3 separate regions of the Homo sapiens genome follow, and regions 1 and 2 are each linked to region 3. Evidence: promoter capture Hi-C in 16 types of primary human blood cells and fetal thymus (Javierre and others, 2016). All regions are on one chromosome and are shown on one strand. Each heading gives the region's core, a stretch centred on a gene start or on the middle of the fragment in contact. The rest is flanking DNA. Distances are from core to core; before and after follow the strand shown. Region 1 holds the start of SMARCAL1 (SNF2 related chromatin remodeling annealing helicase 1). Region 2 holds the start of PECR (peroxisomal trans-2-enoyl-CoA reductase). Region 3 overlaps SNHG31 (small nucleolar RNA host gene 31).

Region 1 (4,869 bases), core at 1,789-4,288, 1.6 Mb before region 3:
CATTACCATAATTCTTGCTGGGCAGGGTCTTAAACACTGCAATGAGTTCCGCATTGTACCCAATCAACACCTGGAAACGATCGCCGTTCCTTACGCACTTTCCCTTCTGAGAGTTCACTCCTTTTTGGACTGAGGACCCTGACTTCTGCTGGAGTCTTCCTTCTGTCCTGGGCGTTACACTCTCTGAGCTAGAATGGATGTAAGAAATGTTCTGCCCCGAAGGGGAGGCTTTTGCTGTCTTGGCCTCTAACTTAGCATCCCTGGGAGGCTGTCCAGAGGAATGAGCTGGTGTCTCTTGGGAACTCTTTGGTTTGGCCAGAGGCTTATGAGTTGGGTTAGCAAAGGGTGTGAACCTGATCTCAGGTGAAGCCTGAGCATGACCTTGACCTAACTCATAACTCAAGAGCTGTTGTTTAGGGACCTCTGGAGGACTTTGTGCCAAGGGAGGAGAGATTCCAGTGAGAGCCATTTGACTACGTGGACTGTGGCCTGGGCAGGCTGTGGGCATTTCTTCTGGCTTTTTCCATATTCCCTTTGCCTGAAAACTGTGGGAATCATGAGGTCTTTGGTCAGCATTAGATGAGCTACTGAGATTCTGTTGCTTGAAAATGACACCATGGCTCACTGGCTTACAAGACTCCCTTGGGAAATTTTGGGATGGGCCTTGCTTGGCCTGGAATGGGTTGCCAGCAATGGAGGTGCCCGAGCTAGTCCTCTGATGCTGTTCTGCCAATAACTTCTCAGCTCTGCGGGCCAGAGCCTTTTGTCGATTCTCTTCAATCTTTTTCCTCTGCTCCTCTGTAAGAGGCAAGGACATTTTCACAGAGAAATGCTTATGCAGGAATGTCAACCTTTAATTGGAAAGTTGGCAAAAGCTGTGGAAGAAAGTAAGAAGAATGAAATGAACATTACATGTATTAATTGTCATACTCCAACCATGATTTTAACAAGCTTTTGTCCCAGAAAATGCATAATGAGCACAACTAAAGGATGTATTAAAGTTTCTTTTATAATTGCACACACACTGAAATAGTAGGCAGCATATGCTGAAATAAAGACCCTGATCAAAAAGCAAAAAGCAGGTCGGGTGTAATCCCAGCACTTTGGGAAGCTGAGGCAGGTGGATCACTTGAGGTCAGGAGTTTGAGACCAGCCTGGCCAACATGGTGAAACCCCATCTCTACTAAAAATACAAAATTAGCCAGGCGTGGTGGTGCACGCCTGTAATCCCAGCTACTTGGGAGGCTGAGGCAGGAGAATTGCTTGAACCTGGGAGGCAGAGGTTGCAGTAAGCCAAGATCGTGCCACCGCACTCCAGCCTGGGCAACAAGAACAAAACTCTCAAAGAAAAAAAAAAAAGCAAAAAGCAAATCCAAAGCTAAAAAGGCATTTCAGAGGCAATATTTCTCTCCTTCTCACATGGTAACTCACATGGTAACTCAATGGTTCGAAGCACTGCCAAAATGGTGAGTAACTCTTCTGATAACTCACATGGCCCAGCCAAGGTGAGTTATCAGAACCTAAGAAAGTTATGCATTGCAACGTAAATCCATCAGATAATGAGAAAGGTGACATTTTTAACCAGAAAGCATAATAGATTAGACTGAAATAGACCAACCAACCACATACCATGGCGTGACACTTGCTAACATAGTCTTTTTCCAACCTAGAAGAAGGAAAAAAGCATTAGCCTCCCATAGCCTGCACACTGAATTCTCCCCTCACATTCACCCCTTTTTATCATTCCTGGCAAATCAGTCTGCCTGTGGCTCAGTGCAAGCCAGAGCAGCTGGCCTTAGGACCTGACTTCCAACACAACACACGGAGCAACTGACTGACTCTCCTGGGAAAATAAGGAGCAGAAAAAAAAAAATTATGTGTTCACTGTGCAAATTAAGATGCTACATAAAGATGTAAACAAAAAAGAATAAAATTACTCTGTAATCTTACCAGCCATCAATAACCACAGTTGAAATTAATAATTTAGAGTATATAGTTCGGATTTTTTTTCATCCATAACAAAATGGCACATATTTAGGAGATATAAGAATTTATTATAAAGTAGGATCATTGTAAACATTCCATATTGCACCCTGATTATTTTTTTCCATGAATTTACCCGGAACATTTATTTTCCTATGAGCTGAGACATGTTTACAATATTTTAGAAGCAGCGGGCAGGACACACCAATTTGTCTGGCTTGGTTCAGACTAAATAGGCTGCATCTAATGTAATGCTGTGTAACGGTTACAATGATGATGTAGGGGTACTCCAGTAGCATTGCTTAGGCCTCTGGGCAGCTATAGGGTTCAAAGCCTTCCTTCCCTGCTGGGGCTCCCTTTGGCCAGAACCCAACCCCCCTCCCCCCTCCCCCACCACGAAGTATCTATCCCCAGAGAACTTCCACCTTCTCCAACCATTAGCAGTTAGGAAGGGGTGAAGAGGTTAGGAAAAGGTTTTGGAGGTGCACAGCAGAAGCCCTCAGTCTCTCTGGGTAACACACTCCTGCCTAAGTTTCCAACCAGGGATCTCCTGCACCTCCAAACTCCCCAGATCCCAGGCCTGGTAAGCTGTCTCCACTAACCAGAGAGACTCGGCCATAAGACCCACTGATCAGCCCCAAACCATAAATCCATTCCGCCACATGGACGCCCCTCTTCCCCTCTAGGCAGGGACCTCTGCCCCCCGCCCCCCACGCCCCGCATTTCGGGGCGAGCCTCACCCAGCCTCAAGGTAAGCGGGCGCCACGCCCCACTCCCACCCCTACGATCTCCACTTGGATTCACCCTTCCCATTGGCCCACTTCCTCCTCCAGGCTGGCATTGGTCTCGTCCGCCTCCGCCGCCTTCCTGCCAGTCTACCACTTTCTCACCCAGGGAGGCCTAGAACGCGAGCCACATTCGCCCCCGGCCCTGACCCCAGGCGCGACTGCAGAGCCTCCCGAGCGGGACCGGTCTTCCGAGTGGACGGTTAGGCCACGGGTATTCAAGCGCTGCGAGTTCGCCAGCCTTATTGTAGCGGCCAGGCCTGAAGGGCTAGGCCACCGCTGAACTACATTTCCCAGCAGGCAACGCGGCCGCAGTTTCGCTTCCAAAAGTAAGAATGATGAGACGAGAACGCGAGCGGGGCTGCAGTGTCTTCTGGGATTTGTAGTTCGGGCCGGGAGCCTGGCGAGAAACGGGAGCTGCAACGTCATGGGCGGGGCGAAAGTGGTGCACCCTGGAAGTTGTAGTTCTCCAGAGGTTTAGCCAAACACTAGGTCCTGAAAGCCTAGGACGTTGAGGTTTCCAAACCCGGAGTCGGCTGTCTCCAGAGGACATCCCAGACAGCCATACTAACTTGGCAGCTCTTAATAAAAAGTATCTCCCCGGGGCATCCATTCCTGGTATTGCTATACTTGCCATTTAAGCCCCACCCGCTGCGCCCGGCTGCCATCATCGTCATCATTGTAGTCATCAGTCATTGTGTTTAGCATAAATATGAGTTACCTCATTTAACCGCACTACAACCTATGGAACACATTCTTGTCCCCCTTTTACAGAGGGGGAAACTAAGACAGCTATTTGATAATATTTCTCAAGGCTTTATTAAGCTAGCTTGTGATTCTGATTCCATAGCCCCTCCTCTTGAGAGAAGATTAGTCATGAGACTTAAAGAGTCACTTTACCCCATCCTGAGCACCAACATCCTGAGCCATCCTGAGCACCATTGGTGATAAATATAACATTTCTCTATCAGTGTGCATATGAATGTTGCTATTGTTCTATTTTCAAACATGGCTCATTTAAAAACAAACAAGTCTACTAAAGGATTTGAAAAAATGGACCAGACATGCTAAGAAAAAGGAAGCACAGCAATGTGTGTAGTTTGATTTTTTTTTTTTTCATCCTTACCTGTACATGTATGTAAACTCATAAAGGTCTGGGAAGGAAACTTAAAAAGTCACCAAACTGTTCAGGAGCAGAGTGGCATGAAATACACTTTTCAGCTTTTTAATCTCTATTTTTCAGAATGATTTGAATTTTCTAAAATAATAATGTAGAATTTGTGTGACTTTTGAAACAATAAATAATCTCCCTTCTTCCTTCCTTCCTTTTTTTTTTTTTTTTTTTTTTTTTTTTTTTTTTTGAGACAGAGTCTCACTCTGTTGCCTAGACTGAGTGTGGTGGTGTAATCTTGGCTCACTTCAGCCTCTGACTCCTGGGTTCAAATGATTCTCCTGCCTCAGCCTCCCAAATAGCTGGGATTATGGGTGCATGCCGCCATGCCTGGCTGATTTTAGTAATTTTAGTAGAGACAGAGTTTTACCATGTTGGCCAGGCTGGTCTCAAACTCCTGACCTCAAGTGATCCACCTGCCTCAGCCTCCCAAAGTGCTGGGATTACAGGTGTGAGCCACTGCGCCCAGCCCATTTGTCTTAAATGACAAAGACATTGCCTGTCTTAGGGGATCTGTGTGAGGTTTAGTAGTAGAAAGTATTCAAATCTCAGCTCTACCCCTTTTATTGACCTGACATACCCAGTGATTGTGCCTCCATTTTCTCATCTGTAAAGTAAATGTAGAAAACAATACCACCTTGGTAAATCTTGTTATTAGAATCAAAGCAAGGTATTATGAGGGGAAGTGCTTAGTGAACTGTGAAATCCCAGAACAGGTAAGAGAGGGATGTTGTTATTATTTGAGGTAAATCTCTTATATCGTCCGTTTCTCTATACCTAGCGCTCATTTCCTACTGTATAGTGTGAACAGAAACTAGTTAATGAACACCTGTCCCTGCCCTTCCTGTCTCCCAACAGTCAGTTAATTTACTAAGAAAGCTGGGTGCCGTGCACTTGACTCATGTCTGTCACCGATTCATATGACCATCA
Region 2 (4,322 bases), core at 853-3,352, 1.3 Mb before region 3:
TCTATTGCTCTGCTTCCAGGCCTTTTGGCCTGGAACTTAGCGGATTAGTGGACTTTCAAACCCTGACAGAGGTCAGAGGCAGAGGCAAAGAGATCATGCCTCCTAATTTTAAACAAAAGATCGCTTGAAGAGACCCCAAAGCTCTCTTAATTGCAGGTTCTGCCTGGATCATGAAAAATCGCCTTCTGACTGTTCATCCTGCAACTTCCTTGCAGCTGAGGAATGGCACCTTGTCATCCTCAGTAGGCATAACCGGTTTGCAGGCCCCAGTCCCTGTTTCACTGGAAGACATCAGAATCCCACTCTCAGTCCGCTCAGCAGCCACACGGAAGCTGCAGCACAGCCAGCTTCCCACTGACCCACCCTGGCACACCTCTAAGAATCTATAGGTCCAGACCAGGGCATAAATCATGTTAAGTTATATCTTCAATAAAGTTATCATTTAAAAGAATTTAAAGTGTCCCCACCCACAAGAAAGAAAGTCTGGACTTCTCTTGAATAAGATACCCCTCAGAACTGAATCAATATTTCTTTTCCTTAAAAAAAAACACCTTGTCATTGGGATCAAACCAAGAGGAGTTATATGTTTCTGCAACAACACTTTGAGCTTTCCTGTTTGAATTTACTTTGTTTTAAAGGAGGTGATGGCGTTGTAATTTTAAAAATTTGGTCCTAACTACAGAATTGACTTAAGTAGTAGAGTTAAGTGATTCCTGGATAAACTATCTAGCAAATGGTAACCAGGAGATTTATTCCTTTCTTTAACGAGTGTAGATTTGAATCTGTCAGCAACAAAGATAGAGGGAGAAGTGATTCTAAAAAGAGATCAGAGAAGGACAAGAGGATGGAGCAACAGGGAAGTGTAGCTGTCCAACAAGAACTGCAGCCTCGCTGGTGGGTGGGACCTGGTGGAGGAAGTGATGGTCTGATTCCTCTGTCAACCAGACCCATTTCCAATTGGCTTTGTGAATCCTAGGTGGTAGGTCCAACAAAAGGATGATGGCATTTATTTGCCTTTATATTATTTTAATACCTGTCCGGGGAAAATGCAACACTCTGACAACAGCCTTAGAAATAGCATCCCATCTGGATTGTTAAGACCACAGCAACTGGCACATTCGACCAAGTTCTTAGGGTGAAGTCTCAGTAGGCCAGTCCAGGTGTAATCTCACTCTGGTGGGTTCAGAGCGGGAAGCAAGATGAAAAATAAGGAGCAGATCTGAATAATAAATCACTGTTACTGGGCACCATAACACAGACGAGAAATTTTCCCCATCCTCAGCGGGCTCACCCTCCTGCACAAGGAATGAACTACAGGACATGATCTCAAACACCTACAGATGCATCTTGCAGGAAGCGTGCACCCTTCAAGGAAAGATCCTCTTCTGGACTCGCTATGCAGCTCAGCTGAAATGGATCAGGTCTCAAACCTGGTAAAGATGATCTTTCCCCTTGATTCTTGGGTGGGGAGTGGGAGGTGAGACGGAGGTGGGCCTGAGTTTATTTTTTCAAATCGTTTATTCTCTTGGTTCTGTGGAAAACTGCAACCGCATCTCCTCTTCCCCTTCACTCTCTTTCCCGGGCTCCCTCCCGAAGGATGAAAGGATCTGAAAGCCGCATTTCTCCCCCTCAGCTAAGCCTGCCCTTTCTCCCCTTCCCAGCCAGCGGCACACAGCACCTGGAGCCACAGCATCGCCGACGTCCGACCCCGGCAGGCGGGCGCAGCGAGGGCGCCGAGCAGCAGCCTTTCTTTTTCCAGCTGCACTGGAGATTTAATTTTAATTAATCGTGAGAGCTTCAGCCCTGAGGATTGAATTTTTGAAATAGAGCACACCCTGCTTGTTTCTTTCTTCTTCTTTTTTTTTTTTTGCATTTCCCTTCCACCCTCCCCAATGGCATCGAAATTTAAAGAAACGAACGAGCAGTCTCACCCACACCTGCCCAGGGACCGACGCTGGCGGAGGTTGCGGACAGCCGGCGGGGAGCGGTTCTGCTCCGGGAGGATGCGGCTTTGCCGCGGCCGGCGGGCGGGGCGGGGCCGGGCCGGGGAGGGTGCGGGGTTCTGGTGGTCACGTGGGCTCGAGCACCGCCCTGTCCGCCCGCCCGCCTCGAATGTCCCTGAGACCCAGAAGGGCCTGCGCTCAGCTGCTCTGGCACCCCGCTGCAGGGATGGCCTCCTGGGCTAAGGGCAGGAGCTACCTGGCGCCTGGTTTGCTGCAGGGCCAAGTGGCCATCGTCACCGGCGGGGCCACGGGCATCGGAAAAGCCATCGTGAAGGAGCTCCTGGAGCTGGGTACGTGAGCGGGCCGCTGGTGCAGAGAGGTGGCTGTGGTGACCTGGGGTAACCTGGAGACGGGAGCCAGGAGCTCTCGGCGGGGCTGAGGGAGTGTGGAGCTGCAGAGCAAAGACGGGGCAGGTGTGGGCGAAATTACGACCACCAGGGAGACAGAAGAGAGCAGCTCTTCCTAAGGAATTGTGGAGCCACTCGTTAAAAACTGAAGAGACCACTCAGGCCAAAGAGACTGTGCCCCAGGTAGGCAGTAAGAAGAGCAGTGAAACATGCTGTGCAATTAGTTTTATATTCAGATTTAAAATTAATCCATTCTATATGCTTAATGTGAGTGATTAGGAAACGTGGGAAGACTTCATTTAACTGGAAAAAGTTGTGAACATAGTGAGTCTCTCATAGTATCTTCTCACATCTCTTAACCACAGCAAGGAAATATGCTGAATATTTACCTTAACTTGGGTGAAGGAAGGCCTTTGTAAACACATAAGTGAGGGAATAAACCACAAAGGAGAACATAAATCAATCTACCTGTATGAAAGTGTAAATCCTCATTGAATTAAAAAAATATATAAAGTTTAAAGGCATATGAAGAAAAATATTTGCAACATAAGATAAATTGTTTGTTGGTTTTGAGATAGGGTCTCACTCTGTTGCCTACGCTGGTCTCGAACACCTGGGTTCAAGGGATCCTCCTGCCTTGCCTCTGAGTCCTAAAGTTTTGGGATTACAGGCTGAGCCACTAGATTCGGCCAACAGCCTTATACATAAAGAGCTCTTACAAATAAAGAAAAAATCCAACACACTGATAGAAAAATTAGACTAATGGTATGGACTAAGCGTTCCAAAAGAAGAACTACAGACAGGCAAGAAACATATGAAAAAATAATCAACTTTATTGGTAATAAAATATGAAACAGTAAGATTTAACTTTTCTAACAAAATTTTGAAATGTTGGGAAAAATTAAAGTGTTGATGCAGGAATGAGAAGGCAGGAATGTAAATTATTACAAACTTTCTGGAAGGCAATTTGGAAAAAAAGATCCAAAAACCTTCACAATGTTTATGCTCTATGACAGTAATTCCTTTTTCAGGAATTTAAGGAAACGGAGTCAAGCAAAGATTTTCATGCAAGGATGTAGTCTTGAGTAGTGAAAAAATGGAAATTACCTAAAAATCCAATATAAGGAAAATAGTTAAATCAATAACAATGAAATATAATGCTTCCGTTTAAATATCTTGCTATTGGTCCTGGCGCAGTGGCTCACGCCTGTAATTCCAGCACTTTGAGAGGCCGAGGCGGGCAGATAACCTGAGGTCAGGAGTTTGAGACCAGCCTGGCCAACATGGTGAAACTCCATTTCTACTAAAAATACAAACCAGGCATGGTGGCGTACACCTGTAGTCCCAGCTACTTGGGAGGTTGAGGCGCAAGAATCGCTTGAACCTGGGAGGCAGAGGTTGCAATGAGCTGACGTCAAGCCACTGCACTCCAGCCTGGGCAACAGAGCGAGATTCCATCTCAATAAATAAATAAATATCTTGCTATTGAAGACTTACTTGGAGAAATGCATACCATATTATTGGGAAAAGTAGAATTCTAAACCTAATAGCATTCCAATTTTACTTTTTTTTTTTTTTTGAGATGGAGTTTCGCTCTTGTTGCCCAGGCTGGAGTGCAGTGGCGCCATCTTGGCTCACTGCAACCTCCGCCTCCTGGGTTCAAGCGATTCTCCTGCCTCAGCCTCCCGAGTAGTTGGGATTACAGGCACGCACTACCTTGCTAGGCTAATTTTGTATTTTTAGTAGAGATGGGGTTTCTATATGTTGGTCAGGCTGGTCTCCAACTCCCGACCTCAGGTGATCCGCCCGCCTCGGCCTCCCAAAGTACTGGGATTACAGGCGTAAGCCACCGTGCCCGGCCCAATTTTACTTTTAATAAAATATATACATGCAGGGCCGGGCACGGTGGCTCATGCCTGTAATCCCAGCACTTTGGGAGGCCGAGGCGGGCAGAGCACAAGGTCAAGAGTTC
Region 3 (4,379 bases), core at 1,274-3,773:
TCTAGAAAATATAACCAAAGCAATATATTTTTCTCAATGATGTGAGTAAAATCAGGGAAGGAAAGATGATCATGGTGTTTGGTTTAAGAATAAAGAGAACACAACATTATATTTATTTTTATGATTGTATTTTTTGGTTTGACTCGGCTTCCAAATTTCCCAAATTAATACCTAAAAATGGTATGTGTGTATTGTGTGTGTGTATACCTATACTGTATTAGTCTGTTCTCAAGCTGTTAATAAAGACATACCCAAGACTGGGTAATTTATGAAGGAAAGAGGTCTAACTGACTCACAGTTCCACACGGCTGGGGAGGCCTCACAATCATGGCGGAAGGTGAATGAGGAGCAAGGTCACTTCTTACATGGCAGCAGGCAAGAAAGCTTGTGTGGAGGAATGCCCGTTTATAAAACCATCAGATCTCATGAGACTTATTCACTATCACAAGAACAGTATGGGGGAAGCCACCCCCATGATTCAATTATCTCCACCTGTCCCCACCTTTGGCACATGGGTATTATTACAATTCAAGGTGAGGTTTGGGTGGGGACACAGCCAAACCATATCATATACACATACATATATACACACACACTTATATATACATATATACACACACATACATATATATACACACATGCTCTTATTACCTAAAAAAAATTCTGATCAATTTATTATTCTTGAACCTAGAGTTTTTTGTACAGTGGTAAATGCTAGCATTTATTAGGAACTTAATATGTTCCAAGCACTTTTCTAAGTGTATTAGCTTATTTTATCCATATAATAGCAGTAAAGTATTTTCTGTTATCCCTACTTTACAGATGAAAAAATATATAAGCTATATTTTGAGATAGTGAGAAAAGTAACTAAAGGCATGAGCGAAATTTAATAGACTATGTCTGATAATTGTAACTAAATTTTAAGTCAGCGTTCTAAATTCTAAATATATTGCTGAAGGGCTCTTAAGGATTATTAACAATAAGAGTAAAATGAGTCCAATATGAACAAGGCATAATTTCTAAAAGAATATATATGGATGAAGAAAAATTAAGCTGAAATGCATGTTGTAATTGATCATTGCTTTTACAGATAATGGTATATAGTCATTCTTTTTTTTTTATTCCCATATTTATTGAACACAAATTGTATATGAGGCATATTTAAATATATTGGTTACTTCTCACTTGTGCTTTGAATGAAATTTAAATTATTGCATGAATTTTGATTAAACTGATTACAGAATTTTGAAACACAATGGAACCCAAACTAGGGCCAATGCTCATTTCCTAAATGAACATTTTATGTGCAAACAAACAGCTGCTAGAATCCAACAGAATTTAAAACAAGCTGTTTGTAAATTTTACTGACAGCTGTTTTTGGTGATTTTTGTCAACAGAATTTTCCTGCTTTGCATCACAGCATCCTTTTATTATAGTATCCCCTCAAAGTATAACTTGCTTGCTTTAATCACGTTTACAGAGATTTATGACTTGATGCTTATTCAGTGGTAGAGCTTCTCAACACAAAATGTCAGTGAGCCTGTTATAAATTGCTTCTGGCATTCCTACTCTATCTTTTATTTGGCTGGGAGTATTTCCACCTGAAAGTGATAAATTCCTGTTATAACCACTTTATGTGCTTCAGTAATTACACTGTACAGAAAAAGAGGATTTCTACTGAGGTGTCTCCTTAAAAATAGCAAGCAATAAAAGGCAGTGGAATGGGCTGAACTCTGAAGTCTATTGAACAAAAAACAATGACCAGTGAAATATGTGTGTCAGACTGAATTTGATAAATGATCAGGAAGTACAGAAGATACCAAAACCTTTAAAACAACTACTGTGGGGTCATAGTAATGTAACTATGTCCTTAGACTAGTTACTTTTAAGCCTGTGACAGAAATTTGGCAGGTGCCCACAAGAATGGAGTTAACATCCTTTCAAAAACAATCTTAAAATATCTAGATGCTTCTAGAGACTTGGGTAATTCTAAACTAAATGCCAAGGTGTACATGACATAGGGACTGAGTTGGTATGTACTAGTCAAAGAGACTGTGGCATGCTAAAACGGTTCAGTACAGTACACTGCAGCCAATAACTTGATCAATACATATACACACAATTGAACTGATTGAAATACACATTAATCATGATATTCATGGGTGGTTTGTTTGCTTCATATATGCTGTCTCTAGTACGTAGGACAAAATTACTGTTTTTAATTGCTTAGGCTTTTTTTTGTTCTTAAATGAGCAACAAAATGATGTAAATAAAAGATGTTTAAGTTAATGAAACAAAATTATAAACATTTTCATTGTCACGTCCTAATATTATGCCAACGATGGTGTTAGGAATCAGGTGGATACTTTATCTGAGATGATACTAAAAGAGACTATAATCAGTAAATAGGATTTAAGCTTCCTTTCCAGGTGATTGCATTATATTTGCATAGGAATTGCTACTGCAAGTATCTCTGTTCCAATAGCCACAGAATAAGTGGTTCTTTGCTTAGAATATGTACTCTTTCATAGGAGAAATCATAAGCCAGTGTAGCTGGCTTCATGCAACTCAACAATGCCAGTCCTAACAATGGAAAAATATGTTGTGCACTTATTGTGTTTTAAGCTTTAATATATATATTAAAGTTTAGGACAGTCCATTGCAAAGGGATGTCCATTGGTTGTGCTGCACTTCTGGTTTAGGACAGTTTCATAAACTGTAATTCCTTTCTCACCACAACCCTTTGAGTATGAGATTGACATATATTAACCCTAAATTTACAAAAGATGAAACTAAGTTCCAAGATGGGTTACACAATGGACAAAATTGTAGGAAATGTCAAGGCTAGGTTTATAATTCAGTTCTGCTTGACTCCAGATCACCGTGTACTTAATCATTACGCCACATTGAATTTCAGAAAAAAAAACAGCACAAAGCATATGACTTTACCTTAATAGCATCATATAAAGGCAAGCTCAGTCAAATGTGCACAGCACACACCACAGTCCTAGATGCTGGGATGGTCTGCTCTATTCCATCAATTACCATATTCAATTGCTCCTTATCAAATGTTTCAAACTACATTTTTTTGTGGGGGGACTACACTTCATAGAGGGGTGCTTGCAAACAAAATTTGTATCTGACAAAAAGAATGCTCTCAGGAAGTCGAAGTGGCCTTTTCCAGTGCATAATACCATAATTAAAAATCAGAGAAGAATTAATATAAAGGTAAGAATTTGTGAGATATCTTTACACTCCTTGGGAGTAGAGTCTGGGTATTATGGATATCCCATTTTGCTTGTTATATATGTTTATCCAAGTGAATATGAGGAAGATTTACCTCTTTGTAAAACACTTCATAACACAACAGAAGAGAAAACAGCATTTTGACTGTTTTCAACAAACCATTATATAAGCCTGAAGATCAGAAAAGAATTCAAGGCTGGAGATGCCTTCATAGCATGGTAACACTACAGAGGGTAACTGAAGCAGTCGGGGGGATGAGGGTTTAAGTGGGCCTGGAGAGAGGAGGATAGGTAAATAAGGCTGAAGCAAGCTTATCTGCATGCCTCAGAATCCACCCAGGACTACAGTGTTACAGTGGGGGAGGGATGGATGATTTTGAGTCTAGGATACTTGGGAATACTGCTTACTAGGAAGAGAACAGACTAGGAGTGAAATGGAGCAACAAGTCTAAACTTTTATGTACACAGGAGGTCCTTGCAGGGAAAACTCTGAAAAAGAAATGATACCATTTAGCCCTTTTTAAAGTGAGAAGAAGAGGACATTGTTCATGTCCTAAACCATGGCTTTACTGAGACCCTGCTGATGGCTGGAGTTCCCTGCAGAACTTTTTCTCTGGGACAAGAATTCCAGGATTTTACACATTGTTGGATGTACCCCATGGGAGAAGGAATGTGCCCTTGAAACTCAGGATCCAGGGTTAAGAGGAAGAGTTGGTTCAAAACAAACATCCCATCTCCACTAAAGGCAAAGCACCAGCAAGCTAAGCTGTAGAAAAGCAAGGCTGGAAGGAAGAAAATGGAATGGGAAGTTGCACATCGGAGAGTAACCCTGCTTATTCTCTTTATGAGTTTCATTATGGCCACTATTAAACAGCTGCCACGAATGTCATGACCCCTGGGGAGATGGAACAGGACAATGGCAGAAGAAAGGAAAAAAGCAAACAAACAGTAGAAAGAACTAATTGTATCTGCATCATAATTCATTTAATAGCATGGTATGAATACGCCAGTTATAAATGTTTGGTCCCAAATCATTTTACCAAAATGTGAAATTTTCATTTACTCTGATCACAGTTAAATTGTGCCCCAAGTATAGTGGCGCACGCCTGTAGCCCCAGCTACTCGGCAGGGTGA

The links. The method cuts DNA at HindIII sites, captures the fragments that hold promoters and counts their contacts. A CHiCAGO score of 5 or more calls a contact.
Region 1: a contact is called between the fragment with the promoter of SMARCAL1 here and a fragment that was not itself captured in region 3, in 1 of 17 cell types (total B cells). The highest score is 5.1, in total B cells.
Region 2: a contact is called between the fragment with the promoter of PECR here and a fragment that was not itself captured in region 3, in 1 of 17 cell types (monocytes). The highest score is 6.3, in monocytes.

The regions. Positions count from the first base shown.
Region 1 is chr2:216,410,653-216,415,521 of GRCh38, reverse strand. SMARCAL1 (SNF2 related chromatin remodeling annealing helicase 1) reads right to left here and starts at 3,038. Exons shown (of 18, transcript NM_014140.4): 1 at 2,874-3,038; 2 at 1,630-1,666; 3 at 7-875. The coding sequence starts at 817. SMARCAL1-AS1 (SMARCAL1 antisense RNA 1) reads left to right here and starts at 3,022. Exons shown (of 5, transcript XR_001739881.1): 1 at 3,022-3,097. RefSeq lists enhancers at 2,929-3,018, 3,149-3,238, 2,982-3,276. The HindIII fragment of the contact is 8,553 bases long and covers 954-4,869 here.
Region 2 is chr2:216,079,589-216,083,910 of GRCh38, reverse strand. It overlaps PECR (peroxisomal trans-2-enoyl-CoA reductase), which reads left to right and starts at 2,102. Exons shown (of 8, transcript NM_018441.6): 1 at 2,102-2,293. The coding sequence starts at 2,170. It overlaps TMEM169 (transmembrane protein 169), which reads right to left and starts at 1,992. Exons shown (of 3, transcript NM_001142311.2): 1 at 1,932-1,992. RefSeq lists a silencer at 1,891-2,150 and enhancers at 2,341-2,390, 2,421-2,500. The HindIII fragment of the contact is 11,582 bases long and covers 1-4,322 here.
Region 3 is chr2:214,813,493-214,817,871 of GRCh38, reverse strand. The region is part of intron 1 of SNHG31 (small nucleolar RNA host gene 31); the gene reads right to left. Among named protein-coding and RNA genes, the nearest start is that of SNHG31, 5.5 kb to the right of the region's middle. The HindIII fragment of the contact is 208 bases long and covers 2,420-2,627 here.